Linked DNA regions of Homo sapiens: regions 2, 3, 4, 5, 6 and 7 are each linked to region 1. Evidence: promoter capture Hi-C in 16 types of primary human blood cells and fetal thymus (Javierre and others, 2016). All regions are on one chromosome and are shown on one strand. Each heading gives the region's core, a stretch centred on a gene start or on the middle of the fragment in contact. The rest is flanking DNA. Distances are from core to core; before and after follow the strand shown. Region 1 holds the start of MORC4 (MORC family CW-type zinc finger 4). Region 2 has its middle 43 kb from the start of PRPS1. Region 3 overlaps TSC22D3 (TSC22 domain family member 3). Region 4 has its middle 25 kb from the start of PRPS1. Region 5 overlaps TSC22D3 (TSC22 domain family member 3). Region 6 overlaps TSC22D3 (TSC22 domain family member 3). Region 7 has its middle 7.9 kb from the start of PRPS1.

Region 1 (2,700 bases), core at 114-2,613:
GGGGTTCATTTGGGGAGCTTTGAAAACATTTTCAAGAGTTTGTTCTGTGCAACCTTGCCCATAAACACTTCTTCCTTCTTTCGATTTTCAAAGCATGTATAATGCGCCCTGTATGCTGCTGCGTTTTGTGCAGGACTGCGTTTCTTCTTTGCTTTCCACACAGTAGCACACTACTGCAAAAACTGGTGTAATTGGCTTGAAGGGATCAACTGAAAACACTTTAAAAGCAAACACCGGTGGAGCGAGAGGTTAAGTCCTCAATATTCATTCCAGCGGTGTGAGGGCGCTCGTGGACCACGGACCCAGCCCTCCGCAGTAGCAGGGAGCCAAATGCACTCGTGTCATCTCTTAAGAGATGTCCCATCATTCCTAACTTTTCTTGTCTCAAAAGTTAAGGAACTCCGCTTTCCAGACCTTTCCCCAGGACCCGCCTCGGTCCTCTACGCCCCTTTGCTAGCTAGGCATCCTCCGTCGGTCGCCAGCCCCTGCGGACCCAGCTGCCTCAGGGCCCGAGGTTTTTATGCATCTCCTTTTGATTACTAACTAAGCTATCCTAAAGTGCCCGAACGTCACGAGCGCGAGAGAAAAACCACACTGGTGTCTTTAACGCTTCAGACACACCTCGTTTCCTCCGTTTTATGAGCGGAACCTAGTTCCTGGCGAGAGAGCCATCCCCCTCCTCCGCCTGCGGAGCCGGGGCCGGTTCCGAGGCCCCCACCCCAGCCCCGGCCCGCCCCGCGCGGCTCTGCGCATTCCTCTCGCGTCCGCGGCACCACGCTGGCACCACTGCCTCGGGCGAACACGGCCGGGCCCGCCCTCGCCACTCACCTAGCAGCTCCGCGATGGCACTGAAGGGTCGCGTGTGGCTGCTGGAGTTGCTCTGGAGGTAGCGGGGGCTCATCTGGGGGCGAGAGAAGGTCCCGACCCGCGTGAGGCCTCGGCCCGCCGGGCCCTCCCCGCGCGCCCCCCGCAGCCCAGGGGCCCGCGCGCGCGTCCGCCCCCTCGGGCCCCGGACCTACCGTGCTCAGGCGGATCCCGAAGGCCTGCGGGCCGCCGCCGGGCCGGGCCAGCCCGCAGCCCGGCGCGCCAGGGCCGGCGGGGGCCCCTCGGTACAGGAGCATTTTTTTGGCCGCCACGGTACCCGTCTGCTGCCGCCGGACCCCTGGCCCGGCGGTCCGGGACTAGCCCTCGCTCACTTCCACTCGCAGCTGGCGGCGACCGTCCGGGACCGGCCCTCCCTCGCTCCCACTCGCAGCTGGCGGAGGCGGAGCGCGCTCCAGCCACCTGTCCCGGGCGGGAGGGGTGAGGCCGGCTGAGGCAAGCGGCGGCTCCGCCCTGTCAGCACCTCTACCGACCCGGCGACTGCCCGGGCTGCCTCTGGGCCGTACAGAAATATGGCGACCTCCTGACAGCCGCTCCTTGATCCCCGCCCCTAATTAATTATTGGCGTATGCCATAGGCCAGGCCGCCGAGCGGGAAAGCGCGGGGGGCGGGGGTGGCGCGTGGGGAGGGGCGTGAATGAAGCAAGAGGAGGGAGAGCATGTATGGGATTTCTGGAACCTAGTCCCGCTTAGGCTGCATGACTAACAGGCAAGATAAGACAAGTCTTTCAAGTTCTAAAGACTACAGTGTTGCTATCTGGGAAGATAGCAAGCTCGCCTGATGGGAAAACATTCTACCTACTCTGCCTCAAATGCCTCCAGAAGCACCCAGAACTTTCTGGAAGGCAATTAGCAAACTATCTCCAAAGTCTTGCTAGCATGCAGGGACGGTGTTTCTAAAAGGAGAAATTGGATTCACTTAAATACCGCCAAGTAGGGGATTGGTCGAGTTATGAAGTATGCATAAAATGAAATACCATCCAGTTCTTGAAGGCCATGTTTGTAGATAAGTATGTGTTGATGTAGAAAAATATTCATGAAGGAATGAAGAAAACAAGGAGTTACAACATATTGTGGAACGCATGATGCCTTTTCTATTGGAAAAACAAATATATATGTATACATATATACATATATATATATGCATGCATACACACATATACACATACATACATACATATATATATACACACACACACACACAACGAAAACCACTTGATATACACCAAGATGATATCTCTGGGTCTGGAACTAGACACTTTTTCCTTTTTTCTTACCTGTGTTTTCTAATATACTATAAATATACACTGATAATAGAAAAACAGATTCATTAAAAACATATGTAATGTTCTATGGCATGAATGAACTATAATTTATTTGACCATTCCTTTATGGTAATTTAGGTTGTCCTCTTTTTTTAATTTTGACAATACAAAAAATGCTCCTTCACACACTCGTGTACAGGTCATTAATTTCTGATACTGTTATCTCCACAGAATGAATTCCAAAAGATGAGACTGCTGCATCTAATAGCATGTGCATGGTTTAATCTTAATAAATACTGTAAGATAGGCAATTTGCCCTCCCAGCAACAATCAGTGCTCTTTTGTCATGTTCATAGCACTAGATGGTCCCAATCTTTTAACTTTTTGATAGTCTTTTCAATAAAAAATAGTATCTCCTTATTGTTTTAATTTGCATTTTCCTGACTACCAGTAAGGCTGAATATCTTTTCAAATGTTTAGTATACATTTGCATCTCCTCTTCTACAAATGCCTGTTTATGTCCTTTGAGCATCATTTTTTACCCCCATTGGGTG
Region 2 (2,862 bases), core at 108-2,607, 670 kb after region 1:
TTTATATTGTTTACACTAACTTCATAAAAGCATTTCACACAGGTGGAGGGGCAATGACCCAAGAAGACTATCAACAGGGAGAAGGGGGGTAGTGGGGAGGGAAGTCTGCAAATTCATCAGCAATCCTCCCTGAAAAACATGCTGAGGTGGCTCCCACTATCTACCTCATGTTTTTTGTCAAAGAAGCAGCAAGGGAAAGAGGACTTAACAAATAACAGCTGCCATTTATTTAGGCTATTAATTTTTTGAGACAAGGTCTTGCTCTGTCACCCAGGCTAGAGTGCAGTGGCGCGATCTGGGCTCACTGCAGCCTCCGCCTCCTGGGTTCAAGTGATTCTCCTGCCTCAGCCACCCGAGTAGCTGGGATTACAGGTGCGCAGCACCACGCCCGGCTAATTTTTGTATTTTTAGTAGAGACAGGGTTTCACCATGTTGGCCAGGCTGGTCTTGAACTCCTGACCTCAAGTGATCCACCTGCCTCGGCCTCCCAAAGTGCTGGGATTACAGGAATGAGCCACTGTGCCTGTGTCTGGCTATTTAGCCGTTACTATGTACCAGGTACTGCATTGATGGCTTTGTGTATATCAGTTAATTCCTAATAACCACTTGAGATAAATATTATTATTATCCCCATTTTACAGATGGAGACACAGGCATGGCAAGGTCAAGTAGCTTGCCTGGTGTTAGACAAGGCAGCATTCAAACCCTTGCAGTCTGGCTCCAGAGCCCCTGCCCTTAACTGCTGTACCACACTGTCTCCCAGTTTTTTGTTTGTTTGTTTTTTGAGATGGAGTCTTGCTCTGTCATCCAGGCTGGAGTGCAGTGGCATGATCTTGGCTCACTGCAGCCTCTGCCTCCCACGTTCCAGTGATTCTCCTGCCTCAGCCTCCCAGGTAGCTGTGATTATAGGCACACGCCACCACGCCCAGCTAATTTTTGTATATTTAGTAGAGATGGAGTTTCACCATGTTGGCCAGGCTGGTCTCAAACTCCTGACTTCAGGTGATCAGCTCGCCTCGGCCTCCCAAAGTGCTAGGATTACAGGCGTGAGCCACAGCGCCCGGCCCTGTCTCCCACTTTTAAAAGTCCATTGCGGCTGTGGTCCTGGCTCTTGGGGAGCTGACAAGAGGGCAACCAGAGACTGACATGGTCTTCAAGGGGAGGGAATGTGACCATAAGTACACTGGGTAGAAAAATAGAACAGGAAGCCCAGAGAGGCTCACCAGTCACCAGTCACCACTCAGTTGGTGCTGGGACTCATTGGTGACGGGGTCGGGGGGTAGGGTGGGGTGAAAGAAGGTGCTTTTCCAAGAGGTGCTGTTGTGTGCACAGAGACAAAGCAGAGCTGGGGCAGAAAGCTGGGAAGGCAACTTTCTTCTGAGGGGGGCCAGACCACTAGGCTGCCTCGGGAATGGGCAAACGGCCCCAACAGCCACTCCTAGGTATATACCCCAAAGAATTGAAAGCAGAGGCTCGGACAGATACTTGTACACCAATGTGTTTACAGCAGCATTCTTCACAATAGTCCAAAGGTAGAAACAACCCTTAAGTGTCTATCAATGGATGAATGGATAAACAAAATGTGGTATATCCATACAGTAGACAATTACTCAGCCTTAAAAGGAAAGAAACTCTGGCACATGCTACAACATGAAGATTATGCTAACTGAATAAGCCAGACACAAAAGGACAAATATTGCATGATTCTGCTTATATTAGGGACCTAGAATAGTCAAATTCATAAGAGACAGAACATAGAATGGTGATTACTAGGGGCTAGGGGGAGGGGAGAATGGGTATATTCTCTACCCTCACTCTGGGGGCGGGTTTGTGGGGGGGATTATTGTTTAATGGGTATGGAGTTTTGCAACATGAAAAGAGTTCTGGAGGTGGAGAGTGGTAATTGTTGCAGAATAATGTAAATGTACTTATTGTCACTGAATTATGCACTTAAAAATGATTCAAATGGCAAAAATTTTTAGGCTGGGCGCGGTGGCTCACGCCTGTTATCCCAGCACTTTGGGAGGCTGAGGGGGGCGGATCATGAGGTCAGGAGATCAAGACCATCCTGGCTAACACGGTGAAACCCCGTCTCTACTAAAAATACAAAAAAAAAAAAAAAATTAGCTGGGCGTGGTGGCGGGTGCCTGTAGTCCCAGCTAGTTGGGAGGCTGAGGCAGGAGAATGGCATGAACCTGGGAGGGGGAGCTTGCAGTGAGCTGAAGTCGTGCCACTGCACTCCAGCCTGGGCAACAGAGTGAGACTCTGTCTCAAAAAAAAAAAAAAAAAAAAAAAAAGCTAGGCATGGTGGCATGCGCCTGTAGTCCCAGCTGCTTGGGAGGCTGAGGCAGGCAGGAGAATCACTTGAACCCAGGAGGTGGAGGTTGCAGTGAGCCAAGATCGTGCCACTGCACTGCAGCCTGGTGACAGAAAGAGACTCCATCTCAAAAAAAAAAAAAAGAGATTCAAATGGTAAAAAATTTTAAAACACCACGAAAACAAAAACAAAACAGCCCGTGCAGCAGCCTGGTCCACTGAGCTTGCAGCCCAGACATTGGTGGTGGGTTTTGAGGTCTAAAAATAGGGCCTCCTATGGCAAAAATTGGTCACCTGGACAGGAACAGCAGTGAGAGCTTATTGCCTGAAGAGGGGGCAAGAGAGCTCTGGGACGGTGAGTTTCCTCACCTACCCCATCTCCCTTTCCCCCCTCCCTCCGTGTGTGCGTGCGTGCGTGCGTGCGTGTGTGTGTGTGTGTGTGGTGTGCACCTCACCACCCCACCCCACTCCAGAGCAGACAGACCGCCAGCCCAGCAGAAGCAACTGGGTGTGGCCTGACTCCCAGGGAGTCCTGGGGAATCCCTG
Region 3 (2,785 bases), core at 267-2,766, 770 kb after region 1:
GTAATGGTGTCACATGTTACTCTTTAAAAAGGTATGCTAGACCTTGGCCATTCATGAGAGATACACACTAAAACTTTTGCCAGTCTCCAACTCATGGATGCAATCTCCAAAGCATGTCATTTCCCCCATAAAAAGTCCATTCCCAGGCAGCACCATCACTTTGCCAAACTTTGTAGCTTTCTCTTCGTTGTAATCACTAGCACCAGCAGCTGGCTTAGAGAGGGAGCATTCTCCTCAAGGAATGCCCTGAGACATTTGCTCATTTTATGACAGGTTCCTACGTATGTGTTGACTACGAGCAGTAGACCACAAAATTGTGTTGAAAAGTAGGTGCTGGGCAATGCCACTCCTAGGTATATACCCCAAAGAATTAAAAGCAGGGACTTGAACAGATACTTGTACACCAGTGTTCATAGCAGCATTCTTCATAATAGCCAAAAGAGGGCAACAACCTAAGTGTCCACTGACAGATGAATGGATAAGCAAAAGAGGTATATCCATACAATGGAATTTTATTCAGCCATAAAAAGAATGAAGTACTGATATGTGCTACAACATGGATGAACTTTAAAACATGTTGAGTGAAAGAAATCAGACACAAAATATTGTATGATTCAATTTATATGAAATATCTAAATAGGCAAATCCATAGAGACAGAAAGTAGAATAGAGGTTACCAGGGGGTAGTGGGAGGGGAAAATAGGGAAACGGTGAGTTATTCTTTAATGGGTACAGAGTTTTTGTTTGGGATGATGACAAAATTTTGGGAATGATAATGGTTGCACAACATTGTTAATATACCTAATGCTACTGAATCGTACACTTAGAAATGGTTAAAATGGCAAATTTTATATCTATTTTACCACTATATATATATATGTACTATGTACAATATATGCATATAATACATCTCTCTCTTTCTCTTTCACACACACACACACACACACACACACACACTAGTAGATGTGGGGTAGGGCACCAGGCTCACTCATTGGTGAAAGGACCGGCCCCCACCTACTAGTCTCCTTGCACATGTGATTCACATCTGTGCCTCAGCAAAAACACAGTTTCTTACCAGTCTGAGTTCTCATGAAGTATCCAAACCATGAATGTTAAGTTTGCAAATGCATTTGTGCTTTTAATGGAGAAGGTCCCTTAATCCAAGAATGCCTATTCTTTGTCAGACCACTAGGCACTCAGGAAATAGTTATTTTAAATTACTTTGGGCTATGAAAGGACTTTTGAAGCTTGATACCAAAAGCAAAAATCACAAAGGCAAAGAATGACAGGCTTAACCACACAGAAACCCAAAACCGCTCTACAGCGAGTAACTCCATCCTCAAAATCAAATGGTAAATTAGTTGACAATGCGTTGCAATCTCTAATACAGGGTTTCTCACAGTGTGGTCTACATACCAGCGGTGCTCTGGGAGAGGAATTTTAGATGGTACATGGACAGAGAACTGAATCTTAAATAGTATGAACTTAGGCACTGCAGCAGGCAGCCACTCAAATCATGCCGTGTGAGTGGCCACCACCTCAGAAGCCAGGTCCAGGAATATACATTATGAAATTACTTGTTCTGAGACTCACTTAGAGAAGCACAAATAATTTTTTGCACAAATTTTTCTTGAAAACCTGATCTCTGAATCTATATCCTTCCCCTTTGTTACTATATTAATAGGGGATATTAAATGAATTAGCACACATAAAGCAATTAGAAATGTTTGCTATTTTTATCATTTTCTGAGCATTTATATATGGGAACCAGTTGGGGCCAGGTCAGAAGCTTAAAGGTAGAATCCTAGGGTTTTTAGAGCTGGAAGGGAAATCGGATTCAGAGTATTTCAGACCACACTAGCCAGGTACGCTCTGGGGTCAAAGGTAGAATAGAGCTGATTAAGAGGTTTTGGGTAAAATCTTAGAAAAAAATTTGAGGTTACAGCAACAGCAATCACAACGAATACTGTCAAAGCTCCTGTTACAGGTTGTTATACCTTACAGGTCAGAAAAATTAAGGAAGGCTCTTCAAATGTCAACTTGGGAAGCTTTTTCATATGCTACATTTAAATTGGAAACTTCTGCTGTTTGCCCAGAATATTCTATCTCCCTCCTAAGTTTTCCAGTATTAGAAGCATATTCAAATGACAAGGGGGAAGTCCCCTAACAACAGGGTGACCAACCATCCCAGTTTCCCTAGGACTGTTCCAGTTTGAGCACAGGCAGTCCTATGTCACAGGACTGGGATGGTTGGTTTCCCTACCTAATAAGGACATTTTGACCATTTGGAAAGGTTCTGAGCTCACATTTACCTCTGCTTCATAGACAATTCTTAAGTGTTACAAGAATTTCTTTAGCATTAGTTTAGTTACTGAGTGTTCTTAACAATTCTTTCTTCATAGACAATTCAGGCTCTGCTCTTCATTGTGAGGCATTGGGCAAGATACTTAATTTTTTCCAAGCCTCAATTTCCTTCTTTATAAAATGAAAATGGATGATAATAGTACCCATTTGGTCGGGCGCAGTGGCTCATGCCTGTAATCCCAGCACCTTGGGAGGCCGAGGCTGGTGGATCATTTGAGATCAGGAGATCGAGACCAGCCTGACTAATATGGTGAAACCCCATCTCTACGAAAAATACAAAAATTAGCCGAGTGTGGTGGCGTGCGCCTGTAGTCCCAGCTACTGAGGAGGCTGAGACAGGGGAATTGCTTGAACCCAGGAGGTGGAGACTGCAGTGAGCTGAGATCGTGCCACTGCACTCCAGCCTGGGCGACAGAACAAG
Region 4 (2,700 bases), core at 24-2,523, 650 kb after region 1:
CTTCCTTATTTGTGAAGCCCAGGTCTACTTTTGTTTATTTTGTTTTTGCTTTTGTTGGATATCGGGATATCTATTTTACAGCTAGCTCTTTGATAAAAGTGATTCAGGAGGGACTAAAGTATACTATGAAATGTGCGCCTCTAACCCTCTAGACCTCTTTAATCTCAGATTTTTGCTCTGGGAGAAGCTGATGTGAAGCACCAATGCCTTCACTTGCTCATCATGCTATTTCCTAAAGTATTGGATCAGTGGGTCAGGTCTCATTGTTACAGAATATTTTGACATTAAGATCTCTCTTGTGGGCCCCTTTGGGTAATTCATTTCCTAGGATGAGGTTTTGAGATTATTCAAAAAAGGCCCAGTCCCCAACTTTGATCCCTTTCAAAGCAGTTGTTTTTTGTTTTTGTTGTTTTTGTTTTTTGAGACAGAGCATCGCTCTGTTGCTCAGGCTGGAGTGCAGTGGCACGATCTCGGCTTACTGCAACCTCCGCCTCCCGGATTCATGTGATTTTCCTGCCTCAGCCTCCCAAGTAGCTGGCTAATTTTTGTATTTTTAGTAGAGATGGTGTTTTACCATGTTGTCCAGGCTGGTCTCGGACTCTCGACCTCAGGTGATCCACCCGCCTCAGCCTCCCAAAGTGCTGGGATTACAGGCATGAGCCACGGTGCCTAGCCTCAAAGCAGTTCTTGACTGTGGGGAATAGTAGCAGGAGCAGACCTGCCAGGGCATGAGGAGGAGGCAGCACCAAAGCTAAGTGGAGTTGCAGCGAGCACAGTTGACAAGAAACTCTAGTTGTGATAGCTACATGATTGCCCTTGAACACCTGTCTGAAGAATGGAGGTACAGACTAAAGCAGGGGTAGGAGGCTGGCTCTGTTTCCTGACCTAATGTAATGGCTGCTTTTCACACACAGAATGTGTTTACTCAACATCTCTATGAGTGGTGGTCCCCAGGGCAGTAATGCAAAGCTTCCTCCCCTCAGCCTCACTTCAAGTTTTTTGTAAGGTAGGTGCCTCCAATAACCAGATTCCCTTTAAGAGGCCTCTTTGTTCTCCCCCACAACTGAGAACTAGTAAGGATGAGATGGCAGGAGGGCATGGCAATAGGAAAATGATGCTTTTCTGGGATTTCAGGCTTTTTATGATTTTAATGCCTTCAGGTTGTTAAGGGCTACATGCGATTAGTATACAAGTTAACACTTTCAGCAGAAAACACTTGGTATCCAAATCTGGAAAGAAGACCAGGACTAGCAGCCCCAACTTAGATGAAAAAAATCTTTTATAGAGGCACCAACTTACAGAGTTGCTGAGCTTCTTCTCTGGTCCTGAGAATGCAGGGAGGTGAGGGGGTATGACATAGAATGGATGCTGCTGTTTGAAACAAGTGGCTTCTGTCTTGGCAGTGGTGGTTTAAAAAGCAAGAGTGCTACAGCCAGAGATTCCCCCTCTGCTTTGCCTCCACTGTGTTTGGAGACTTGTTTTTCTCTTGCAGATTTTTTTTTTTTTTTTTTTTTTTTTACCACTCTGAGACTCCTTGTTTAAGAATAAAGCAAATTGTGCTCCAAATTATGGCAGATAAAGCTTGATACTCTGTAAAATCTTGGCTCGAGCATTTCTTTTTGTGTTTATAACATTTACTTGACTCTTTACAACTCTTCAACTGCTATTTGTTGCTATAAAGTTTTAAAGTTTGGGTTTAAGACAGAGTCTCACTTTAGCCCAGGCTGGAGTGCAGTGGTGCAACCTCGGCTCGCTGCAACCTCCGCCTCCCAGGTTCAAGTGATTCTCGTGCCTCAGCCTTCTAAGAAGCTGGGATTACAGGTGCCCGCCGCCACACCTGGCTAATTTTTGTATTTTTAGTAGAGATGGGGATTCACCATGTTGGTCAGGCTCGTCTTGAACTCCTGACCTCAAGTGATCCACCTGCCTCAGCCTCCCAAAGTGCTGGGATTACAGGCGTGAGCCACCGTGCCCGTCCTATAAAGTTATTTTTTAAAATAAGTGTTCAGTTCTAGGAGCCAGGAAATAAATAAATAAAATAGTGTGTGGGTGCGGTGGCTCACACCTGTAATCCCAGCACTTTGGGAGGCTGAGGCAGGAATGAGCCTGAGACTCAGAAACCTGCCCATGTGGGTGTGGCTCCTCCTTCCCTAGTCCTCACTGCTCATGGGCTACTGTATGCCCACTCCTTGGTCTACTGTCCCCCCACCCCGTGCCCTAAGGAAAACCAGAGACTCTCCACTGACAGTCAGACTTCTCTCCCCATCCTTCCCCTTTCCTGAGCTTTTCTTCCCCAATATATTCATTCCTCCAATAGCTCAGCTGCCAACTATAAAAAATAAGGGGAAGCTCATTTTGAAGCAAAAATAGCTGAAACTGTACAGGGTGACAATAGGCCTTATTCCCTCAGCCCCATTGTGTTTTTTGTTGTTGTTTTCTGACTGGCTCAAGATTTTATCTTCTTAGCCAAGTCCCCACCCCTCCCCCCTCTGGCGTGTCCACTAACTGCTGCGGCTGGGTTCTTGTTGCTTCACCCATAGAGTTGCCATGAGCTCACTCATGGTGTGGCTCTGATTCAGGGTTTGAATATAAAACAAAACAGGCCAGCCAGGTCTGACCAATCCATTCCTCCTGGGTAATATGCTGAGCAGAGATTTTCCCGCTTGTAAGCAGCCTGGAGCCACACAGCCCAATTTTAGT
Region 5 (2,859 bases), core at 148-2,647, 740 kb after region 1:
TCAAAGAGATGAAAGGAACTCTGAAGATGAACTAGTTCAATTCCCTGCTTTTTTGGGGTGAGGAAACTGAAATTTGGGTAGAGCCAATGACTTGCCCAAGGTCACACAGACAGGTAGGGACAGAGCCAATACTCTAACCAGGCCTGTGTAATTCCAGAGCCTCTGCTCTTTTACTCTGCTCCCTTGCCCTTTAGGCCTTGGCTCGCCAGCCACCATCACCATCCCCTTCTCCAAGTGTACCTCTTTTCCATGACACACCTCTGAGCACTGATTCTGTTCTCTAATTGTTTGCTATGTGTGTATCTAGTTTTCCCAACAACAAAGCAGCCTGAGTGGTAAGGGGCTAACTCATTCCTCTCACTTGAATGAGGTACAGAGGAGGGAAGTGACCTGCCTAAGGTCACACAGCTCATTAGTGATAGAATTGGGAACAGGATCTTGGTCTCCAAGCCTCCACTTGGGGCCACTCCCACTACACCACAATGCAGCACACCTCTCTTTCTCTCCCCATTTTCCCCTTCTGTGCTGTCGTGGAATTTTACAATCTTGTCCCTTTCTCTCTTCTTTATATTCTTCTCCTCATTCCTAACGTCTGCATTTTTCTTAACAAGCCTGCTGGATTTTAGAACTGGAAGGGACCTCTACCTATCACTTAACAGACGAGAAAACTGAGACCAGGAGAGGGAAAACAGAGTGCCTGAAATCACACAGCTAATTAGTGGCACACCTGGGATGCAAGGCCAAGTCACCAGCTCCTAGTTCAGAGCTCTTCCAACCATCGTCTTTCGGTCTGTGCTCGATTTTTATGGCCGTTCTTGCTTGAAAAGCCCCCTTCCAGGCATGACCAGATCCAGCAAGATCTGAGAGTGCTTGGGCCCAGGGTCACACAATGTCCCTGGGGAAAAGTAGAAGGAGCTGAGAGGCCTGGAACCACCCACATCCTCTCACATCCCACCCCGGGAAGCCCAATTTGGCCTTGCTGAGGGCGGTGACTATCAAGTATGTGTTGAGATAAAGTCATAGCCTCTCCAATTCTCAGTTCATGGCCTAGAGAGTGGCGTCAAAGCCCAAATGGGCTGCAAAACGAGGTCAGTTAACTGTCCTCTCAATGGAAAAATCTTGGAAAATCAATAGCACTTATAACGTCAACAGACCCAGAGACCTTTCCTTTGTTTGTTTTTTCCTCCTGGGCCGGTCTCTCTCACCCACCCTGCTGTGAAGGCACAGACAACACAGGAATCCAGCAAGGGAAGTTGCAAAGGCCAGACCACGGCTCCCAGGGCCCCTGGACCAATGGGGGACAAGGGGCATGCTGAGGTATAAATGACTTGTGAAGATCCTGGCCAAGTCCCTCCTTATTCCCCCAGGCAATGTTATTCAGATTCAAGGCCCTCCCTGGCAACTGGCACCTGGTTGGAAATAACCAGGAGCTACTCAAAACTCCAGTAGAGATTCTGGAAGCTCAACCCTGTCCCAGCTTTGTCACACAGGGGTTTCGCTAAGTAAGAGAACAACCAGAAAGCCAATTAGACACCACCATGGGGTCTTCCTGCACTGGGAAGTGTCTGAGGCTCTCAGACTGGAGTGGATGTTGGCCCTTTTCCCAGACATCCTCCCCACTACACACCATGGGTATATTCTACCTTCCCTCCGTGCACAAAGAGGGTGGCTGCCTCCATGCTGCTTTTTTTCTTTTTTTTCAAACAGGCTTCTTCCTGCTCCCAAACTGGTCCTACTGCACAGCCTGTACTTTCTCCCATTAAATGAAGTCCTTCATATGAAAGTATTGTGAGTTGATTCCAACCTGGATTCATTTGACAAAAATTTATTGAGCCCCTACTTTGTGTCAGACACTGGTAGCTTTTCTCAACGTGTTTTGTGCTATCAAAGACCATTGCACCCCATGAGTTCCCATTGAGAAAACAGGGCCAGATCAATGGCAGATTTGTTGCTACCAGGCAGAGAAAGCTCAGCAAAGAGATGTGAATTTAGGTCCTGGGAATAAGTGTGTGCCATCGTGTGGGTCCCTGGACACTGGGATATTGATGCATGGGTGCCTGGGGTGGTGAGCTGAGAGATGCCCTTTCCATATGAACTCCTACGACCAGGAACAAACACTACATCCCAGATAAGTTGTCCTGGCTGGCTGCAAGGGGCAGAAGTGAGGACAATTCCAGGGCTTTCCATAGCTAAGAAACAACTGTGTCCTCTGGTCTTGGTCCTAGCAGCAGGGATCACTGCCTGTTGGCCTCCCAAGCAAGTCAAGGGACAGGCATTTTGGGAGAAGCAGCCCCGTCTTTTCTGATATGTCCCCTGGGCACCTGAGTTTGGTTCCCTTGCTGGTCAAGACACATCTAAAGCATTTAAAGGCAATTAGGTAGCTTTTCAGCGGAGAGTTTTCCTGGTTAAACACCCCATCCCTACCTCTTGAATGCATGAACAAAATTTTGCAGCTCATCTTCTCCTAGGCAAGGTCTTGGCCCTGTGCCTGCTCCCCCAACCCTGCCCTCTGGGTGATCTTGCTCAAGGACGCCAAGGGAGTTGGTGGTAGAGGCTGGGAGCACAGCCCAGGTTTCCTGGATCCTGGCCTGGCACTCTTGCCACCAGACCCCGCTGCCGCTCCCTCTCCTCTCTTGCCCTTTGTGCCCAGTCTGCACCTCCTGGAGGCACATGCCCCACACCCCACTAGTTTTCATGGGCGAGATGTTTCTATTCAACACCAGTTGGCAGTTCAGCCATATGGGGCATAGGGAGTCTGGCCTTCTGCTGCCCATGGGGCCAGACCTAGGTAAAGGGAGGGGGAGAACAGGCTACTCTGCTGGTCTGGGACCAGCAGAGCTGAGTCCTTAAGGCAGTAAT
Region 6 (2,700 bases), core at 88-2,587, 750 kb after region 1:
GACAGCAAGAATTAAGTCTAGACAGAACCCAACTGAGTGAATTTGTTGGTCTCTGTGGGCTGCAGGAACCAGAGAAGCCCCATCCACTCAGGTTGCCACTAGCTTCAGCCATGGTGACATGGCATCAGCTGCAAGCCTACTGTGGCTGGCTCAAGGGCCTGGGACTTGTCCCCTGGGCCTCTAAATGCCAGGCCAGGAGCAGTACAAGCCTCTCCTATCCTTCCCTTTACCTACTGCTTGGCCACTGACAGGGTGCACCTGGCTAGCTCAGCTCTGTTTTCTTAAGTGCTTGCTGAGCCAGAGAGGAGAGAGGAGGGAGGATGGACTCAGGGAAGGGAGGAAGGGCCAGGATGCTGGCCTCCTGAGGTAGCATAGATTCCCCATGAATACACTGCTGACTATGATAGGTAGCAGTGCTGCCTCTTCCAATTCTAGCACTTCTGGGAGTCATTTCTCAGCTCACACTTCCCTCCTGTGACAGATACATAAATCCTTGGCTGAAGAGGCTGCCGTGCCCCTTCCTGTTTCAGATGTGATTTTCCTCAGATGAATTGCGCCACCACTTTCAGACTCACATGGGTCAGACGATCAGACCAGGCATTGTGATACAGCCATCAGGTTATAGTTAGGAAGAAGAAGGGAACTATCGATTTCCTGGTAACTCCTTGGATCTGTCTCCCCAAGTCAAACTAGGTACCATTACGCAGACCCCTTAGGTCTTCATGGACAAATCCACAGCATCCACAACCATATGACATATTTCAAAGACACACAGAAATGACTTCAGTATGCTTGAAAATCAACTCCCAAGTATTTCTAGGTGGCTTTTCCATTTTGTGAAATAGCAGTGGCAATGCTTGGTCTCAGCTTAGCTTCTCCCTACATCCAGTTTCTTCTAGTTTCTGTATACTCCAGGGGTGCAAGCTTATTTTCATATCAGCCCAAATAATTAAGAAGGCAGATCTACTGAAAAAAGTTAGACCCATGGTGCAATTTCTTTCTTCCTTTTTTTTTTTTTTTTAAGACGGAGTCTTACTCTGTTGCCCAGGCTGGAGTGCAGTAGTGAGATCTTGGCTCACTGCAACCTCCGCCTCCCAGGTTCAAGTGATTCTCCTGTCTCAGCCTCCCGAGTAGCTGGGATTACAGAAGCGTGCCACCACGCCTAGCTAATTTTTTTTTGTATTTTTAGTAGAGACGGGGATTTCACTATGTTGGCCATGCTGGTCTCGAACTCTTGACCTCATGATCTTCCCACCTCGGCCTCTCAAATGCTGGGATTACAAGCGTGAGCCACCGCGCCTGGCCTATCATGGTGCAATTTCAAAGCTAGCTAGACATGATGTTTCTCCTACATTATCTCTTATTTTGGATTATCCATGCCACATGTCCTATGTTACCCTAGCCATGTGAAACTCAGCCATACTTGGATTTGGAATCCATTTGTGAGTGGGTAATTTATTTTTGAAAAAACTTTCTTTATGCACTACTTGGGCTGGTATCAAAGTGATCCTGCACCCCAGAGTTCCCAGAAACTAGCTAGAAGGTCGGTGGGGGGCAGCCTGGAATTTTGTGATTGCTATAGATAATCCACAAAATGGATAATGAATATAGGAATAATCAAAACTCTACCCAGATACAAGAATGGGGCTATGTGGGTAGGCAGCTAAGAGCAGAGGCTGCAATGAGTTGCTAGCACACAATTTAGTATCATTAAGGAACAAGCATGACCCTGGATGCTCTAAATAGGAAAGAAGCTTGTAGGAACTATGAAGTCGTCTTCCTTCTCTATTCCATGGTCATTGGCCACTAATGAAATCTTACACAGCTACAGTTTCCTGTAAAACAGCTAGCTTGGGGGTTAGGGCAGGTGATTGCGTCCTCTGCAGTTCAGTTAACCCATTTATGACAGAGATTGCAAATTTTTTTTCGTGAAAAATCAGACCTTGGCGATAACCTTGAGCAGTAGGATATAAATAACTCCCACAAGCTTAGCGTTCCAATAATGGAACACCAGGCCTAAATGGGTTAATTTTGCTCCTTTCCTAACCTGCTATCTTGCAAATGTGTGTCACTGATCAGAGGATGGATTTGGGTGACTGGCTAAGGGCAAAGGTTTTCATGCCACAATCTCAGCTGTTACAGAGGACAGAATGAAATCTCTGGTGGATAACTTGGACATTATCTAAAAGATGGAGAAATGAAAGTTCAAACTTTTTTCTTTAAAAAAATGGATTTAGCTAATTTGGAAAGTAAGACCGACAAGGGATGGGATAACTACAATTTAAGCATATTAAATTTATTAAGCATAGGAAAGCTGGAGGACAGAATTAGGAGGAATAATGTCAGAGAGCAGAAGTTGTTAAACACTGGAATGTATGAACAAAGGACTTTGTGGTATTTCCTTTCTTGGAGGTGTTTGAAGATCAACTGTCTCTGCTTGAGGCTTTTGCTAAAAACTGTTCAAGGGACTGGCCAACATAGGAAAGACACACAAGGCTCCTGAGGTGTAACCCAGACAGAAGGCAGGAGACCAGACCCAGAACCTTCATCGTCTTTCTGCTTCTCTCCAGGGCTTGCCTTCGTGAAATCCACAAGGTGAGCCCTAGGAGGAAGCAGGACTAATAATCATGTTTTGTATCACAGGGAATGGAAAGAAGTGGACCAAACATATTTACACGCAGCCTATCATAAACTCCTGGT
Region 7 (2,904 bases), core at 84-2,583, 620 kb after region 1:
TTTTTTTTGAGACGGAGTTTAGCTCTTGTTGCCTAGGCTGGAGTGCAGTGGCACAATCTCAGCTCACTACAACCTCCACCTCCTGGGTTCAAGGAATTCTACTGCCTCAGCCTCCCAAGTAGCTGAGATTACAGGCATGCACCACCACACCCGGCTAATTCTGGTTTTTTTTTTTTTTTTTTTTTTTTTTTTAGTAGAGACGGGGTTTCACCATGTTGGCAAGGCTGGTCTCGAACTCCTAACCTTAGGTGATCCACCTGCCTCGGCCTCCCAAAGTGCCAGGATTACAGGCATGAGCCACCATGCCTGGCTGAGGACATTTTTTTTTCCTAAAGTATTTTAATTCAAATCTCCTCAAAGAGATTTAAATTAAATCTCTTGCCCGGCGAGGTGGCTCATGTCTGTAATCCCAGCACTTTGGGAGGCTGAGGCGGGTGGATCACTTGAGGTCAGGAGTTTGAGACCAGCCTGACCAACATGGCGAAACCCTGTCTCTACTAAAACTACAAAAAATTAGCCGGGCATGGTGATGGGTGCCTGTAATTTCAGCTACTCAGGAGACTGAGACAGGAGAATCGCTTGAACCTGGGAGGTGGACTGAGGTTGCAGTGAGCCGAGATTGCACCACTACACTCCAGCCTGGGTGACAAGAGCCAGACTCTGTCTCAACTAACTAACTAACTAAATAAATAAATAAAAATAAAAAATTAAATCTCTCAAAGAGTAATTCCTTGCCCACATACCCTGATTGTGCTTATCTTTCTAGAGAGAAATAAGGAGCAAAGATAACATTCTTTCCACACACGTTTACATTCTACAGTTAGCAAATCAGATTACAGCACTTAGTTTTTGCCGTAATGGAATGTTTAGTTCCCAACCCGCCCCACTGCCCAGACAGAGTCTTGCTCTGTCACGCAGGCTGGAGTGCAGTGATGCAATCTCAGCTCACTGGAACCTCTGCCTCCTGGATTCAAGCAATTTTTCTCCTCGGCCTCCCAAGTAGCTAGGATTACAGGTGCATGCCACCATGCCCGGCTGTTGGCCAGGCTGCTCTTGAACTTATGACCTTGTGATCCGCCCACCTTGGCCTCCCAAAGTGCTGGCAGTACAGGAGTGAGCCACTGCATCCAGCCTGTGTTTAGTTTTAAACTAATGAGTCCAAGCTTCTATGATAATTTACAGGCATACCTTGGAGATATTGTGGGCTCAGTTCCAAACCACCACAGTAAATCAAACATTGCAATAAAGCAAATCACATGAATTTTTTTGATTTCCCAGTGCATATAGAAATTACGTTTACACTATACTGTAGTCTGTTAAGTCTGCAATAGCGTTATGTCTAAAATAACAAGTACGTGCCTATATTAGGCTGTTTTTTTGCATTACTATAAAGAAATACCCGAGTCTCGGTAATTTATAAAGAAAAAGAGATTTAATTGGCTCACAGCTCTGCAGGCTTTATAGGAAGTGTGGTGCTGGCATCTGCTCCTGGTGAGGACCTCAGGAAGCTTCCAATCATGGCAGAAGGTGACAGGGAGCCAGCATGTCACATGGCAAGAGCAGAAGCAAGGGAACAAAGGGGAAAAGTGCCACACTCTAAAACAACCAGATCTCCCATGAACTCAGAATAAAGAACTCAATCACTATTGCAAGTACAGCACTAAGCCATTCACGAGGGATCTACCCCAGTGACCCAAACATCTCTCACCAGAACAATTTCCAACTGGGGATTACATTTTAACATGTGATTTTGAGGAAACACATATCCAAACCATATCAATACCTGAATTAAAAAATACTTTATGGTAGGCTGGGCATGGTGGCTCATGCCTGTAATCCTAGCATTTTGGGAAGCCAAGGTGGGCAGATCACTTAAGGCCAGGAATTTGAGACCAGCCTGGTCAACATGGCAAAACCCTGTCTCTACTAAAAATACAAAAATGAGCCGATAGTGGTGGTGCGCACCTGTAATCCCAGCCACCCAAGTGGCTAAGGCATGACAATCGCTTGAACCCGGGAGGCGGAAGTTGCAGTGAGCCAAGATCATGCCACTGCACTCCAGCCTGGGTGACAGAGTGAGACTCTGTCTCAAAAAAAAAAAAAAAAAAAAAGCCAAAACCAAAAACAAACAAACAAAAAAATTTTATTGCTAAAAAATGCTAATGATCATCTAAGCCTTTAGCAAGTAGTAATCTTTTTGCTGGTGGAGGATCTTGCCTCAACACTGAGGGCTGCTGACTGATTAGGTGGCAGCTGCTAAAGGGTGGGTTGGCTATAAAAATTTTCTAAAAAATACAACAATTAAATTTGCCACATTGATTGACTTCCTTTCACAAAAGATTTATCTGTAGCATAAAATGCTGTTTGATAACATTTTAGCCACAGCAGAACTTCTTTCTTTTTTTTTTTTTTTTTTTTTGAGACGGAATATCGCTGTGTCGCCCAGGCTGGAGTGCAGTGGCCCAATCTTAGCTCACTGCGACTTCCACCTCCTGGGTTCATGCCATTCTCCTGCCTCAGCCTCCTGAGTAGCTGGGACTACAGGCATCCACCACCATGCCCGGCTAATTTTTTGTATTTTTAGTAGAGACGGGGTTTCACCGTGTTAGCCAGGATGGTCTCGATCTCCTGACCTCATGATCTGCCCGCCTCGGCCTCCCAAAGTGCTGGGATTACAGGCGTGAGCCACGGCGCCCGGCCGAACTTCTTTCAAAGTTGGACGCAATCCTCTTAAACCCTGCCACTGTTTATATAATGTTCTAAATCTTTTGTTGTCATTTCAACAATGCCTACAGCATCTTCACCAGAAGTAGATTCCACTTCAAGAAACCACTTTGTTTGCTCATCCATAAGCAAAGGAAAAAAAAAGAGAGAGAGAGAGATGACTGCTCATCCATTCAAATT

The links. The method cuts DNA at HindIII sites, captures the fragments that hold promoters and counts their contacts. A CHiCAGO score of 5 or more calls a contact.
Region 2: a fragment that was not itself captured here is called in contact with the fragment with the promoter of MORC4 in region 1 in 1 of 17 cell types (naive CD4 T cells); the score reaches 5.1 in naive CD4 T cells.
Region 3: a contact is called between a fragment that was not itself captured here and the fragment with the promoter of MORC4 in region 1, in 4 of 17 cell types (total B cells, naive CD4 T cells, naive CD8 T cells and 1 more). The highest score is 6.6, in total B cells.
Region 4: a fragment that was not itself captured here is called in contact with the fragment with the promoter of MORC4 in region 1 in 2 of 17 cell types (activated CD4 T cells and total B cells); the score reaches 7.5 in activated CD4 T cells.
Region 5: a contact is called between a fragment that was not itself captured here and the fragment with the promoter of MORC4 in region 1, in 1 of 17 cell types (total B cells). The highest score is 6.4, in total B cells.
Region 6: a fragment that was not itself captured here is called in contact with the fragment with the promoter of MORC4 in region 1 in 1 of 17 cell types (naive B cells); the score reaches 5.7 in naive B cells.
Region 7: a fragment that was not itself captured here is called in contact with the fragment with the promoter of MORC4 in region 1 in 1 of 17 cell types (total B cells); the score reaches 5.7 in total B cells.

The regions. Positions count from the first base shown.
Region 1 is chrX:106,998,849-107,001,548 of GRCh38, forward strand. MORC4 (MORC family CW-type zinc finger 4) reads right to left here and starts at 1,364. Exons shown (of 17, transcript NM_024657.5): 1 at 1,020-1,364; 2 at 829-901. The coding sequence starts at 1,121. RefSeq lists silencers at 1,129-1,338, 1,349-1,428. The HindIII fragment of the contact is 4,977 bases long and covers 1-2,700 here.
Region 2 is chrX:107,670,408-107,673,269 of GRCh38, forward strand. No RefSeq gene overlaps it. Among named protein-coding and RNA genes, the nearest start is that of PRPS1, 43 kb to the left of the region's middle. RefSeq lists a silencer at 2,731-2,780. The HindIII fragment of the contact is 4,714 bases long and covers 1-2,862 here.
Region 3 is chrX:107,768,790-107,771,574 of GRCh38, forward strand. The region is part of intron 1 of TSC22D3 (TSC22 domain family member 3); the gene reads right to left. Among named protein-coding and RNA genes, the nearest start is that of TSC22D3, 5.6 kb to the right of the region's middle. The HindIII fragment of the contact is 542 bases long and covers 1,246-1,787 here.
Region 4 is chrX:107,652,348-107,655,047 of GRCh38, forward strand. No RefSeq gene overlaps it. Among named protein-coding and RNA genes, the nearest start is that of PRPS1, 25 kb to the left of the region's middle. The HindIII fragment of the contact is 612 bases long and covers 968-1,579 here.
Region 5 is chrX:107,735,892-107,738,750 of GRCh38, forward strand. The region is part of intron 1 of TSC22D3 (TSC22 domain family member 3); the gene reads right to left. Among named protein-coding and RNA genes, the nearest start is that of TSC22D3, 38 kb to the right of the region's middle. RefSeq lists an enhancer at 902-1,479. The HindIII fragment of the contact is 7,191 bases long and covers 1-2,859 here.
Region 6 is chrX:107,752,913-107,755,612 of GRCh38, forward strand. The region is part of intron 1 of TSC22D3 (TSC22 domain family member 3); the gene reads right to left. Among named protein-coding and RNA genes, the nearest start is that of TSC22D3, 22 kb to the right of the region's middle. The HindIII fragment of the contact is 830 bases long and covers 923-1,752 here.
Region 7 is chrX:107,619,143-107,622,046 of GRCh38, forward strand. No RefSeq gene overlaps it. Among named protein-coding and RNA genes, the nearest start is that of PRPS1, 7.9 kb to the right of the region's middle. The HindIII fragment of the contact is 345 bases long and covers 1,162-1,506 here.